Linked DNA regions of Homo sapiens: regions 1 and 2 are each linked to region 3. Evidence: promoter capture Hi-C in 16 types of primary human blood cells and fetal thymus (Javierre and others, 2016). All regions are on one chromosome and are shown on one strand. The core of a region is centred on a gene start or on the middle of the fragment in contact, and the rest is flanking DNA. Distances in the headings are between cores, read along the strand shown. Region 1 overlaps LOC105373404 (a long non-coding RNA gene). Region 2 overlaps LOC105373404 (a long non-coding RNA gene). Region 3 holds the start of ALLC (allantoicase).

Region 1 (4,021 bases), core at 737-3,236, 3.1 Mb before region 3:
CATTAGGAATAGAGGCAGGGGTTCAAAAGGAAGCTGGGTGGTAACAATACTCCCATTTCTTTCGAGTTCATCAATTAGAATCACTTTCTCTGCAAATTTGACTTCACAGGTGATCCGCTTCACAGATGAGGAGGCAGGAATGCCCACAGGGGATTCACCCATCGTCATCAGCCACACGCGGGAGATGTAGGGCCAGATTTCTCCCTCCATCTGTGTGATCCCCAATCCTGTGACACTCCTGCTTCCTTTTCCCGTAGTGGGGGAACTCCCTCCAAATGGAATTTCAGTTGCTTAGATCTTTGAATTGGATAGTACTACCTATGCTCACACTAATTAAACAATTAAGTCGATGCATTTAATTTTATTTTCCCCTGGAAGATGTAATCACCAGTATCGTTATTGAGGAGGGAGGAGGGGAGAAGAAAACTCCAAACAGCAGAAAACATTCCTGAGTTCTGTGCGCAGTGCCTTTGATGGGTGTGCTCAGATTTTTTTCATCGAGGTGGTTTTGAATCAGTTGCAGGCCTTCTTTCATGTGGGTAACTATTTAAAGATGTGATATTCGGGGCAAGCGTTTGTACCAACTCATTTTCTCTGTCTTCTCCCAGGCCGCTGAGGACCGCACAGGGGAGCGGGCGGCGGCATCGCGAGGACTGACCACTGGGTGGCACTGTTGCTCCATGGAGAGCTGCCAACGGCGTCCCCGGGGACCCGGCCACGTTGAGCACAAAAGGTGGGATTTCTAAGGTGTGCTCGGTGATGAGTTTCTTAATGAATTTACCTCTTCTATGGAATCTCCCTCTGCAGCGTCTCCTGCCGCCCGGGGCCGGTTTCTGACTGTGGACTCTGGGTTGAGCCCATGGGGTCAGTGCGCGTGGAGCTTGCACTGCCCAGACCCACAGCCCCAGGAGCAGCCACCTCCCGTGTCACCCGGGCGGCGTCCTGATGACATCACTTAGAAGATTAAAAATAAATTGAAGCACATGTCACCTTAAAGGGGGCACAAAAAGGACATCTGCATGATTTGATGCATCCATGAGAAAGGGCTGCTGGCTTTTGATTTAAACTGTTGGGAAAGAGGATTTTAAAGCTTGTAAGCTGCTAGTATTTCCAAAAGAATGACTATTTTTTATTTTTTATTATTTAAATTAAAAAAGCACTTCCCTGTTCCCCTGTCCCTACACTCTAATTCTTCTTGGCTTTGATTTGGGCGATATTGTAGGCAGCTTTCTGCTCCACGGTGAAGGTCTGCCCGAGGAAGGACGGGGACAATCTTGGGGAAGATGGGGGAGGCGGGGACCGATTTTCCAGCCCAGAGCTGGGGTCTGCAGAACCAGGAGCCCGGGCCAGGCTGGCCTATCAGCCATGACCATCTGTGCACCTTAGCCACCTACTCACAGCACAGCCTCCATCTGCAGATCCACCTAGGACTCATCCATTCCTGACTGGTCTTTTGTTTCAAAACCCGGCAGCCCCGGCCCCTCCCAAGCCTGAAGTCACCACACACGCCCATCCTCCCATCAGTCACTTCCTGGCTAATGGGGACTGAGGCCCAATCATTCTCGTTTTTCATGCCTTGTCAGAGGCCTGAACACAGAGACAGAGGAAGGGAGAGAGAGAGAGAGGGCAGCTCTGGAGGAGGCGCAGAGTATGGGCAGATGTCCTCATGAAAAATTTACAAGGAATAATCAGAGGCCCCTTCTCTCCCCTCTGGCCAAAGTCCCCCTAGGCTTGTTGCCCGGGCCGCTGTGAGAATATTGGAAAAGTCCCCCTCGTTTTGAAGGCAATCTGGTTCTGGGGGGTTAATGCCCAGCGTTGATGCACTTGGCTGTCCTCTTGAGACCGGGTTGCAAATGCAGTTCAGGCAAAATTGATGAAGTATCAGTTAATCTGAGGCTGACAGTTTAGAGAGGTCACAGCTGCGAGGGGCTGCCAGGGTCTCCCAGAGACAGGACTAAGAAGAGTTAAAGCCAGGGAGGGCCCGGTGAAAGGAAGCATTCATCTTCTTCGCCTGGGCATTTCTCAAACATTGCGCCTGCCAGGATCCCTGAGCCTCTCTCCAGGTGAGCAGTGTGAGTGGGGAGGCTTTCACTCTGGTGCGCACAGTCATGCCTCCTCCCAGACAAATCCAAACCCACATGCCTGGTGTTCCTGGCTCCTTGGGAAGGAAGAAGGAGGGAGTTGCTGCTCCTAATTGAAACAGGCAGTTAGGTCTCCTATGCAAATCCCCTTGCTGTAATTGGCACTGTGAGTGCCGCCTGCTCATTCCTCCGTTTCCCGCTAGGGGAAGGTCATCTTGGTAAGAGATGTGTCCACACGGGGTGGGCTCTGAGCTGCTCAGAAGGAACTCTGCAGAAGTGGGGAACCATTGACTCACACCCTTCCCATAGGTGGTTTCCTTCAGGCTCCAGCAATTTTTTACAACAAGGTGGTACAATGAGAAAAATACCGCTCTGCTGTTAGACCACATATTTCAATCCTTGTACTTCCTAAGAGTTCTGATAGTCCAAGAGGCTGGGGGCTATGGCCATGTTTCTCACTCGAATTGCCCTGGTACTGAAATGCATCACGTGTAGGGGAGACTCAGTGTTTGTGAGCACACACTGAGTGACTATAACTGAGTGATTTCAGAGAGACAGAAGAAGGCATGCAAATGCACTTGTCTTGAGTTGTTTTCTAGGGGACATGCTCAGGGCTCTGGGACCTACCTAGTCATCTCGCTGCCTGGAGAGGCGGCTGCTTGGCCATGTTATCTCCATGCCTTCTAAATTAGGATGCGGCTTTAGGTTCACATTCATAAATAATTGGGTTTTATGGGATAGGAAGCAGCAAGGGCTTTGCGTTGATCGGCCCTGGGTTGGGTCCTGGCCTCCCTAAGCTTTGAGAATGATTTTATCATCACCATTGCCTGCTTATGGGAAAATAGGGCGGCAGTTAGTCGTGGAGTCCCTGTGACAAAGTGGCAGGTGGATGGCTGCGCCGGGGGTCTAACCTGCGCTGTCACACTCCGTTCCCTCTTCCTTTCAGTGACAAGAATGCAAGTAATAGTGCTGAGAATCGTGTGCTCAGCTGTGCTGGGCTGAGCATTTTATGTGCATGAACTCATCCCTCCCTGCGAACTTGTGAGAAAGGTATTATTATTATCATTATTAATATTATTATTACCGTATTCTCTCTGCTTACAGACAGAGAGATTGAGGTGTGGCAAGTAGGTAGTAAAATCCACCTTCTTCTTCTGTGAGGTTCCTCCTGTTCCCAGGGGTGTGGGGACGGTGAGTGGTGGATGGGTGAGGTCTTACAATGCAAAACTGCTGATTTCTACATCCGAAAAAAATCATGAATATGAACGATTATAGCCAGATTGAAACTATCATTATTTTCGGTAAGAAAAAGTGCGTCTATTCACAGAAAGTCAGGTACTTTTCCCCAAAATCACATGGGAAAAGTGTGCAAATACAGAACAGCCCTTCCAGGAAGGAACTATTTTCTCCGAAACAGGAAATTGTTGTACATTCAGACACACCATAAATACACGTCTAGTTTGTACATGGCAATTCCAGGGTCTGAGGCTCTTCCTTCCTGGCCCTAGAATGGCGTCTCTTGCGCTGTGGGCTTCCTGTTGAGGCAGGGGCTGAGGAGGTGGGAAGCAGAGGCTGAGATTTTCCTTCACCACGGTCACAGAAGATGCGCTGTTCCAGGGGCCTGGGTGGGAGCAGCCCAGGAGCCTGCGTCTCCCCTCCTCGGCCCTGGGAGGCGGCTGGACTGTGCCACACGGGACGGGTGCTGAGGGACCGCTGGGTGCCCACCTCCCTGACCCCTCCTGCAGGGGTGCCTGCCAAGCAGCCTGGGCACTGCCGTCTGGAAGATGCGCCGTGCCGGTTCTACACGGTGTTCCCTTGCTCCAGGCAGAAAGGTCAGTCCAGGCTTCTCACTCCATCGTGGCCAGAAGCCAAGTCTCATGGCATGAGATTCAACCAAAGAGAATCTCCTGGAGCTTCTTTACCTCATCAGACTTATATCC
Region 2 (3,872 bases), core at 706-3,205, 3.1 Mb before region 3:
TTCTTCCTCAGAGCCTCACTGTGTTGCCCAGGGTGGAGTGCAGTGGCACAATCTCAGCTCACTGCAACATCCGCCTCCCAGGTTCAAGTGATTCTCCTGCCTCAGCCTCCTGAGTAGCCAGGACTACATGTGCCCGCCACCACAACCAGCTAACTTTTGTATTTTTAGTAGAGACGGGGTTTCACCATGTTGGCCAGGATGGTTTCTTTCTTTCTTTTTTGACAGGGTCTCTTTCTTTTTTGACAGGATCTCTCTCTGTCACCCAGGCTGGAGTGCAGTGGTGTGACCTCAAGTCACTGCAGCCTCTGCCTCCCAGGCTCAAGTGATTCTCGTGCCTCAGCCTCCCAAGTAGCTGGGACTATAGGAACGCACCACCACACCTGGCTAATTTCTATATTTTTTTGTAGAAATGGAGGTCTCATCATGTTTCCCCGGCTGGTCTTAAACTTCTAGACTCAAGCATTCCTCCTGCTTCAGCATCCCAAAGTGCTGGGATTACAGGTATGAGCCACCCTGCCCGGCTTCTCAACCCACTTAACAGTAGCAACTGCCACCATTGCCATTTGCTGTCCTCATAATAATACTGTGGCATAGGTATTATTATTCCCATTTTGTGGGTAAGAAAATAGAGGTTCAAAAAGACTATGATTTGCCTAAATTAATAATTCGGTAATAATTGAAAATAACAAGCTTTAAGTGCTTATGTGCCATATAGTGGGTTAAGTTTTTCATATAGATCGTCTCATTTAATTCTTTAAAAACCCCATGTCAAACCCCATTTGACAGATGAAGAAGTGAGTCTAAGAGAGATATAATTAATGACAGAGCGGGATTTGAACCTTATTGACTCTATTTTAACTGCCAGCCTTGCTCCATATTTCATTTTCTGAAATATTATCCCAAATAGTTCAGTAACTGGCAGTTATTATTATTGTCACTTTTAAAAAAGTGTTAAAATTTTGGGGAAAAACTCCACTTTATTCCCAGTCTGGCCCCTAAGGCTTGTTCTTTTATTTTTAATTGGCAAACAATAACCCCTCTGCTTTCTTGAAAGGAAACTAGATATTGTAGGAGGCAGCATCAGTTTGCCTGCCTTTCCCAGAGATAAGACCACTGAAATGCATACTTTGTGCAGGTGAATACAGATTAAAAGCTGACTAGATGATAGTAAAAATGGAAATAAATAAAATGACAATTTGTCTCATTTCATATTTGTCTAATTACTCCAGTTGAGATATAAATGTGTCACAAAAATATAGCTTTTACTCACTCATATTTTGCATCTTAATTTCCCAGTTCAGCTTTTTCTGCCCCTAAGTATGTAACTCTTATATACTCCAGTGCTTTAGTAATAGCCTTATCCAAGCTATTGACATGAAAATAAGGAGTAATGTATACTCAATTGTACATAATAGGGTTGTAATTCCGTGGAGAGATGCCTGAGTGCTTTCCTAATGCCATGAGAAATTCAACGTGGAATTACAGGCTTGAGTTAATGTGCAAGAGTATCGGGTTGGTTCGTGTGCAGCTAGATGAGCTGACTTTTCTGCAGGATGCTACTACCAATGCAGCCCCTCTAGAGAGCAATGCTGAAGGGGAAGTAGAGGCTACAGCGAGGCCATCCACTCTTCATGATGCATTAGGATGTCCTGTTCCTGACATAGTCTGGCTGGCTTCATTACGCTCATCCTGCTACAAAGAATAAGACTCCAGGGATCTTCCTGGTGTAAAATGCATTCAATGGAGATTGACATTTCCAAATCATAACAACACAGTGCTCTATTCAATATGAGATATTTGTCAAGATTTTTATTAGTGAGTAGAAATTATGAGCTAGGCATTCATACTCCAGCAGAACATCTTGCTCTAATTATTAAGGGCTCTCATTTTTGGCCACAGTTGTATCCAACCAATACTAAATGACTTCATGTGAATCACCGTGCTAAGCTGTGGTGGTCATCTAGGTGTCCCCTGTACAAGTGTCTCAAAGGGAGCCCCACTGTGAATGTTTTGAGGGTACGTGAACCTGGGTATGTAGATCTGTGGGGGCTGGAGCAGTGTTGTTGGGTGGTAGAGCCAGAGCTGGTGTCAAGAGGAGCCAACATGCGAGCTAGAGCTGCATGAAAGGTTTGGTGGAGAGCTAGGAACGGATATGCAAGAAAAAGGATCAAGGATAGAAGATGAGAGGGTTGGAATAAGGATGGACTATGTATTAGTCCATTCTCACACTGTTACAGAGAACTGCCCAAGACTGGGTAATTTATAAAGAAAAGAAGTTTAATTACTCACAGTTCTGCATAGCTGGGGAGGCCTCAGGAAACTTACAATCATGGGAAAAGGGGAAGAGACACCTCTTACGTGGTGGCAGGTGAGAGAGAGAGTGTGTGAGCGAGAAGGGGAAACTGCCTTATAAAGTCATCTGGTCTCGTGAGAATTCACTATCACAAGAAAAGCATGGGGGAAACTGCTCCCATAATTCAATCACCTCCCTTCCTCAACACATGGGGATTGCAATTTCAGATGAGGTTTGGGTGAGGACACAGAGCCAAACCATGTCAGTCTGACATGCCTTAACTAGTCTGGGATTATGATTCATGACCAAGGATATGGAGGAACCCTGCAGCTTCCCTTAGGAGTACTTGATGTAAAGGAGTCCCATGAGGGCCAGGTACAATGGGAAGAGTGATGATCCACAAGAGTAATAATTTATATTTTATAATTTACAAAGTATTTTCACCTACATGATTTCCTGCAATTCTTACAAAACGCCATAAATTATAGGTATAGCACCTTAGGTCAAATAAGCTAGACCAATGGTTCTTAACATGGGATCCAAAAATATCTTGAAACTCCAAGCAGCCTTCAAGGTGGTGTTGTGTAGGCATTAGGAGCCTGGAGTTTGAGGCTGGGCCATGCGCATCCTGGCTCAGTTGTGCTAGCTGTGTGATCTTGGGCAAGTTACTTAACCTCCCTGGCTCAGGATCCCCATCTTTAAAACTAGAATCTAAATAATACTTATTATGATAATTCCTCCTAGTGTTGTTTAGATAATGTAGGGCCAAGGGGAAACTTCCGGTTTGCCCTATAAAGGTTCATTGAACATCAACTTTAAAAAGACAGATTCATAGGAGAAAAGCATACAAAACTTAATTTTCATTGCATAGCATGGAGAATCACAACAGAATGGTTGCCCAACAACCCAACGGGTACAGAAGCTTATATTCCCCTTTGCATAAGGGGAGGAGGAGATGGGGACTGGGGGCTTTTTTCTGAGGGGCAGCAAATAATTATTATGGAGAATAAATGGACAGAAATTAACTTGTAAATGATTCTTTTTTTTGGAATTTCAATGAGCCAGAGACACGGAAAGCAGGTGCTTTTGCGTTCCTCAGTCTTCTTTTCCCAGATAGACAATGAGATTTCAGGAAGGAGAAAAAAGCAATTGTGTTTCTTTTGGAAAGAAGCTTTCTTGATCAGATAAGGACATTCCAGGAGTCTCTCCATCCCTCCATGTGCTTGCTAGGGTCGTGGGTGAATAAGGCAATGTTAGAAGGACCTTGATTCTGAAGCAGCATATCAGGCCTCTCAGCATGGGAAAGCGCCATTTCTGAGGTACCACTTTCTGAGCTCCAACAATAATTAACTGACTTAATACTAAGGCACATAGTAATCCCTGCATGAGTTGTTCTCATTGCTCAATGCATTCTTCCTGCCCACTGCACAGACAAAACCAGTTCACTGAGACCATGGTACTGAAGTGAAGAAAGAGTTTAATGCTAGGGCAGCCACATGGAAGAACTGGAGTCCATTATTCAAATCAGCCTTTCCAAGAGCTCAGAGGTTGGGTTTTTATAGCCAATTTGGTAGACAGG
Region 3 (3,825 bases), core at 326-2,825:
GGCAGCCAAGAGCTGGCGGTATAAGGGGCCGTTCTCAGCCCTGGTGGAGGTCACAGCTCCACGACTCTTGCGCCATGAGCTTGCTGAGCTCTCTGCTCACTGGTCCCTGCCGTTTCTGTTGATAAAATAGCCAAGGTCTAGGCAAGAAAGGAAGGAGCCACGCGACCTCGGCTGAGGCCACCAGCTCAGCAGCTCACAGTGCTCAGACAGCCTGTGGCAGCTGCTTCTAAGCTCATTGCTGCAACCCCTCCCACTGCCTGCTCAAGGGAGCTCTTAAATACATTTTCTGCTGTGGCTGAGACCAGACCCAGGGTCAGCTCTGATGTTTGAGGAACATGCTAAAGTTTTACCTGCAAATTTCAACTTAATCACCGCAAATGAGGAGCATTGTCATGGGTTACGGCAAGGCGATGAGGCAATGACTCTCTAAAATAGAGTCATGAAATTTCAGGCAGTCAAGTGGTGCTCACACTATTTTTTCTTTTGAGATTAGCCTTAAAATAAGAAAAGGCATGACCAGGCAAGTCTAGGAAGCACAAGAAAGAGAGACCTCCCTCTGACAAGCAGGGAAGGCTGTGCTGATGGAAGAGTTACTCCCTCGTAAAGAAGAAAACCTTCAGGGGCTTTGTCATCGCTGTCAATAAGTTCCGAAGAAGCCTTTGGCCAAAAGTATGAGATTTATGGTGAAATAATAAAAGTGGTTTGTTCAAATTTGGGACAAAATTAGAGTGACCTTGAGCAGGGACTCTGAGCAGCCCAAGGTCAACTGCACGAGACTCCTGACTACCGGCAACTCTTGGTATATATTTACATTTAGTTCTACTTTGTGACTCTTGTTTTGAATATAGGTTTACTTCACCATGGCCTTAGTTGTTTAGGTTTTTTTTTTTTTTTTTTTGAGACAGGGTCTCACTCTGTCATCCAGGCTGGAGTACAGTGGCATGATCTTGGCTCATTGCAACCTCCACCCCAATCCCATCCCGGGCTCAAGCAATTCTCCCATGTCAGCCTCCCAAGTAGCTGGGACCACAGGCACGCACCACCATGCCTGGCTATTTTTTTGATTTTTGGTAGAAATGGGGTCTTGCCATGTTGTTCAGGCTGGTCTCAAACTCCTCAACTCAAGCAATCCACCCACCTCGGCCTCCCAAAGTACAGGGATTACAGGCATGAGCCACCATGCCCAGCCTCTTTAGATTTTTTTTTAAGAAGGCCAAAGTCACATGATTTGAAACCAAACAGAGCAGTGACCAGAGCCCAGAAGCCTGACCCACCTGTGGGGCCCCTCCAGGTGTTTGGGCCACGCCCGGTACCAACACAGTTCAACGGCACAAAGTGGTGTCTGTCACCATCTACCCTCTGTCACCTTCCAAGTGTCGAGGGTTCGTTGCATGACTGAAATTCATCTCTGTCACCCTATTCTTTTGGCAAAGCCCACCTTAAAGATAGCAAGGTATTTATAAACCACACTCCAGCTCACCCAGCAGTCAGAAATCAAGTATTCATAAATGGATCTCTTGCTCCCCAGAAGCCAGCCAAGGTCCCACGGTGCTTGAGTGCCAGCTCAGAGAGAATGTATAGGGGCCTGAGGTAGAGACAGAACTTTGCAGAGATTGGCTGTGCCTGTATGATGTCACAAGGGTTGCAGAGAGGTGGAAGTAACAGGGGGAGCAGCCCCTCCCCGGAGAAGCCAAGCAGGCCTCTGCAAGACCCTCGCACAAGGCCCGAAGCCAGACATGGTCCCTGCTGGTCCCAGGGCCCTTCCCTGTCCCTAACAAAGCTGCCTCCGGCCACTGGCCTGGGCCTGAAACCCCCACCTTCCTGGTCCGGCCAGTAACCTGACTTAAAGTTTTATCTCTAGACGTCACCTATTCACTAATCATCATTAACTCAGAAAACACTGAGCACACCCAGCAGTGGGTCCTGACCTACTAGAGAAGACAGGGGCCCTTGGGAGGGTTTGGCTAGAGCCCCTCAGCCCCAGAAAAAGTAAATACACACAAAATTTTCATGGAATTTAAAGAAGCCCACAGATGCTTAAGAAAGGGCACCTTGCCAAGTGGATGCTAGGCCTGTGGCATACAAAACAACACGTGCCGCCTGCCTTCAAAGGCCCCACTGTCTGCAGAAGAACTTTCCATGCAGAAAGAAACAGCTGAGCCCGGCTTCGACATGCAGTAACAGACGTTGCCTTGCTTCACCACAGCCACCCTGCGGGGCAAGCTATCCACTCTGCAGATGAATCAGCTGGGGCCTTGAAGGCAGGAAAGCCACCCGAGGTCACCTGCGCAGGGAGGGACTGAGCTGGAACCAGAACCCAGCACAGCAGATGGCGCGCACAGGGGCCCTTGGGGCTCCAGAAAGACAACCTGCGTCCCAGGGAGATCCATCACCCACACGCTCCTTTTTCCTTCCTGGGTTTTCTTTCCCCAGGGCCTGACCGGCCTTCTCCTCCTGAACTCCAGCTTTCCCAGAGGAAAGCAAAGCCATTTGAAAGGCCGGCTCAAGGCCACCTCCAACTGAGAACCCCACCCCCAACCCCAGCCCGTCTCTCAGCCCCGCCACCCAGCCGTAGTTAGGATGCGTCCAGCGCCTGTTGTCTGATCTCAGCTCGCCCGGCCTTTGAGTCCATGTTTACACATCTGTCTGCCCATCCAGATGAAATTCTTTAAGAACGAAACCACATCCTATGCTGCCTTCCATAGCTGACTGTATTTTAATGAATTAATGCACGTGGCTTCGTCCCTGGCAGTTCTTGTCAGCCGTGACTTCCCCGCCACAGCAGTGCAGTGCCCCCGCTCGCCGCCTCGGATCAGTCACAAAGCTCACGGTGCGGAGAACAGAAGGGCCTATTTTTATCCTCGTGGTTTCGCTAAGCCTAGGCTGTGGCACCGATAAAGCCATGGAAGAAGGCACCCTGACCCCTGCCCTCCACACCCTGACCTCTGCCCTCCACACCCTGACCCCTGCCCTCCACACCCTGACCTCTGCCCTCCACACCGAGCTGGCTCCTACAATCTAATGTGCTTCCAAATCACCTACGAGCTGGTTAAAGTGCAGATTCTGACGCTGCAGATTTGAGATACGGCCTGAGGCTTGAGATTTCTCCAAGCTCCAGGGCGATGCTGGGGCTGCTGGGCCATGGCCAGAGGTTGAGCACAGGGCTCTGCCAGCTAGCTGCCCCATCCGACGTGGCAGCCACTAGCTATGCTAAATTCAATACTTCTCTAACGCTAAAATCAACTTAATTTAGTGAAGTTAAAAGTTTGGATGCTCTGTCTTATGAGGTAAGTTTCTAGTGCCCAACAGCCACATGCGGCAGAGGCGACAGGCTGGGCTGCACAGCTACAGAACTTTCCATCGTGGCACAGCAGACGTCCTGTGGACCCATCTGTGGGGCGGGAGGAGAACAAGAGCTGGCAGAGAGGTGGTCCCAGAGCAGTGGCCTGAGCCAGACGTGAGGCTGTTCTCGGAGCTCCGTAGGGGCTTCAACCCTCCTGCCTTGGTCCTGCCAAGACATGAGGATTCTCATGGAAAGGGCTGGAGCACCCTCAGAATAATGCCGCCATCCCCGGCCTCCCTGGGCTCCCAGGAGGCAAGGAGATCAGCCTGCGATGATGGAGGTGCTGGCTGCCTGGACGGGCTCCTCCCGACCCCTGCGCAGCCCCTGGCTGAAGTGGGTGTCCCGCTCACTAGGTGGGGACCTGATGTTGAGGAAATGTCCACTCTTCAGGCACAACAACCTCCCACCTCTTCCTCCCCCCGCCCCATTCCACTGGGAGCTCGCTGGCTCTGCTGACAGCAGGCTACCCACATCCCCCACCG

The links. The method cuts DNA at HindIII sites, captures the fragments that hold promoters and counts their contacts. A CHiCAGO score of 5 or more calls a contact.
Region 1: a contact is called between a fragment that was not itself captured here and the fragment with the promoter of ALLC in region 3, in 4 of 17 cell types (M1 macrophages, M0 macrophages, M2 macrophages and 1 more). The highest score is 8.3, in M1 macrophages.
Region 2: a contact is called between a fragment that was not itself captured here and the fragment with the promoter of ALLC in region 3, in 1 of 17 cell types (M2 macrophages). The highest score is 6.9, in M2 macrophages.

Annotation. Positions count from the first base shown.
Region 1 is chr2:6,769,971-6,773,991 of GRCh38, reverse strand. It overlaps LOC105373404 (a long non-coding RNA gene), which reads left to right. Exons shown (of 4, transcript XR_922745.3): 4 at 609-1,169. LINC00487 (long intergenic non-protein coding RNA 487) reads left to right here and starts at 3,681. Exons shown (of 6, transcript NR_038369.1): 1 at 3,681-3,913. RefSeq lists an enhancer at 1-825. The HindIII fragment of the contact is 1,788 bases long and covers 1,093-2,880 here.
Region 2 is chr2:6,787,504-6,791,375 of GRCh38, reverse strand. LOC105373404 (a long non-coding RNA gene) reads left to right here. Exons shown (of 4, transcript XR_922745.3): 3 at 408-501. Among named protein-coding and RNA genes, the nearest start is that of LINC00487, 19 kb to the right of the region's middle. The HindIII fragment of the contact is 2,525 bases long and covers 693-3,217 here.
Region 3 is chr2:3,655,950-3,659,774 of GRCh38, reverse strand. It overlaps ALLC (allantoicase), which reads right to left and starts at 1,575. Exons shown (of 12, transcript NM_018436.4): 1 at 1,481-1,575. The HindIII fragment of the contact is 6,896 bases long and covers 1-3,825 here.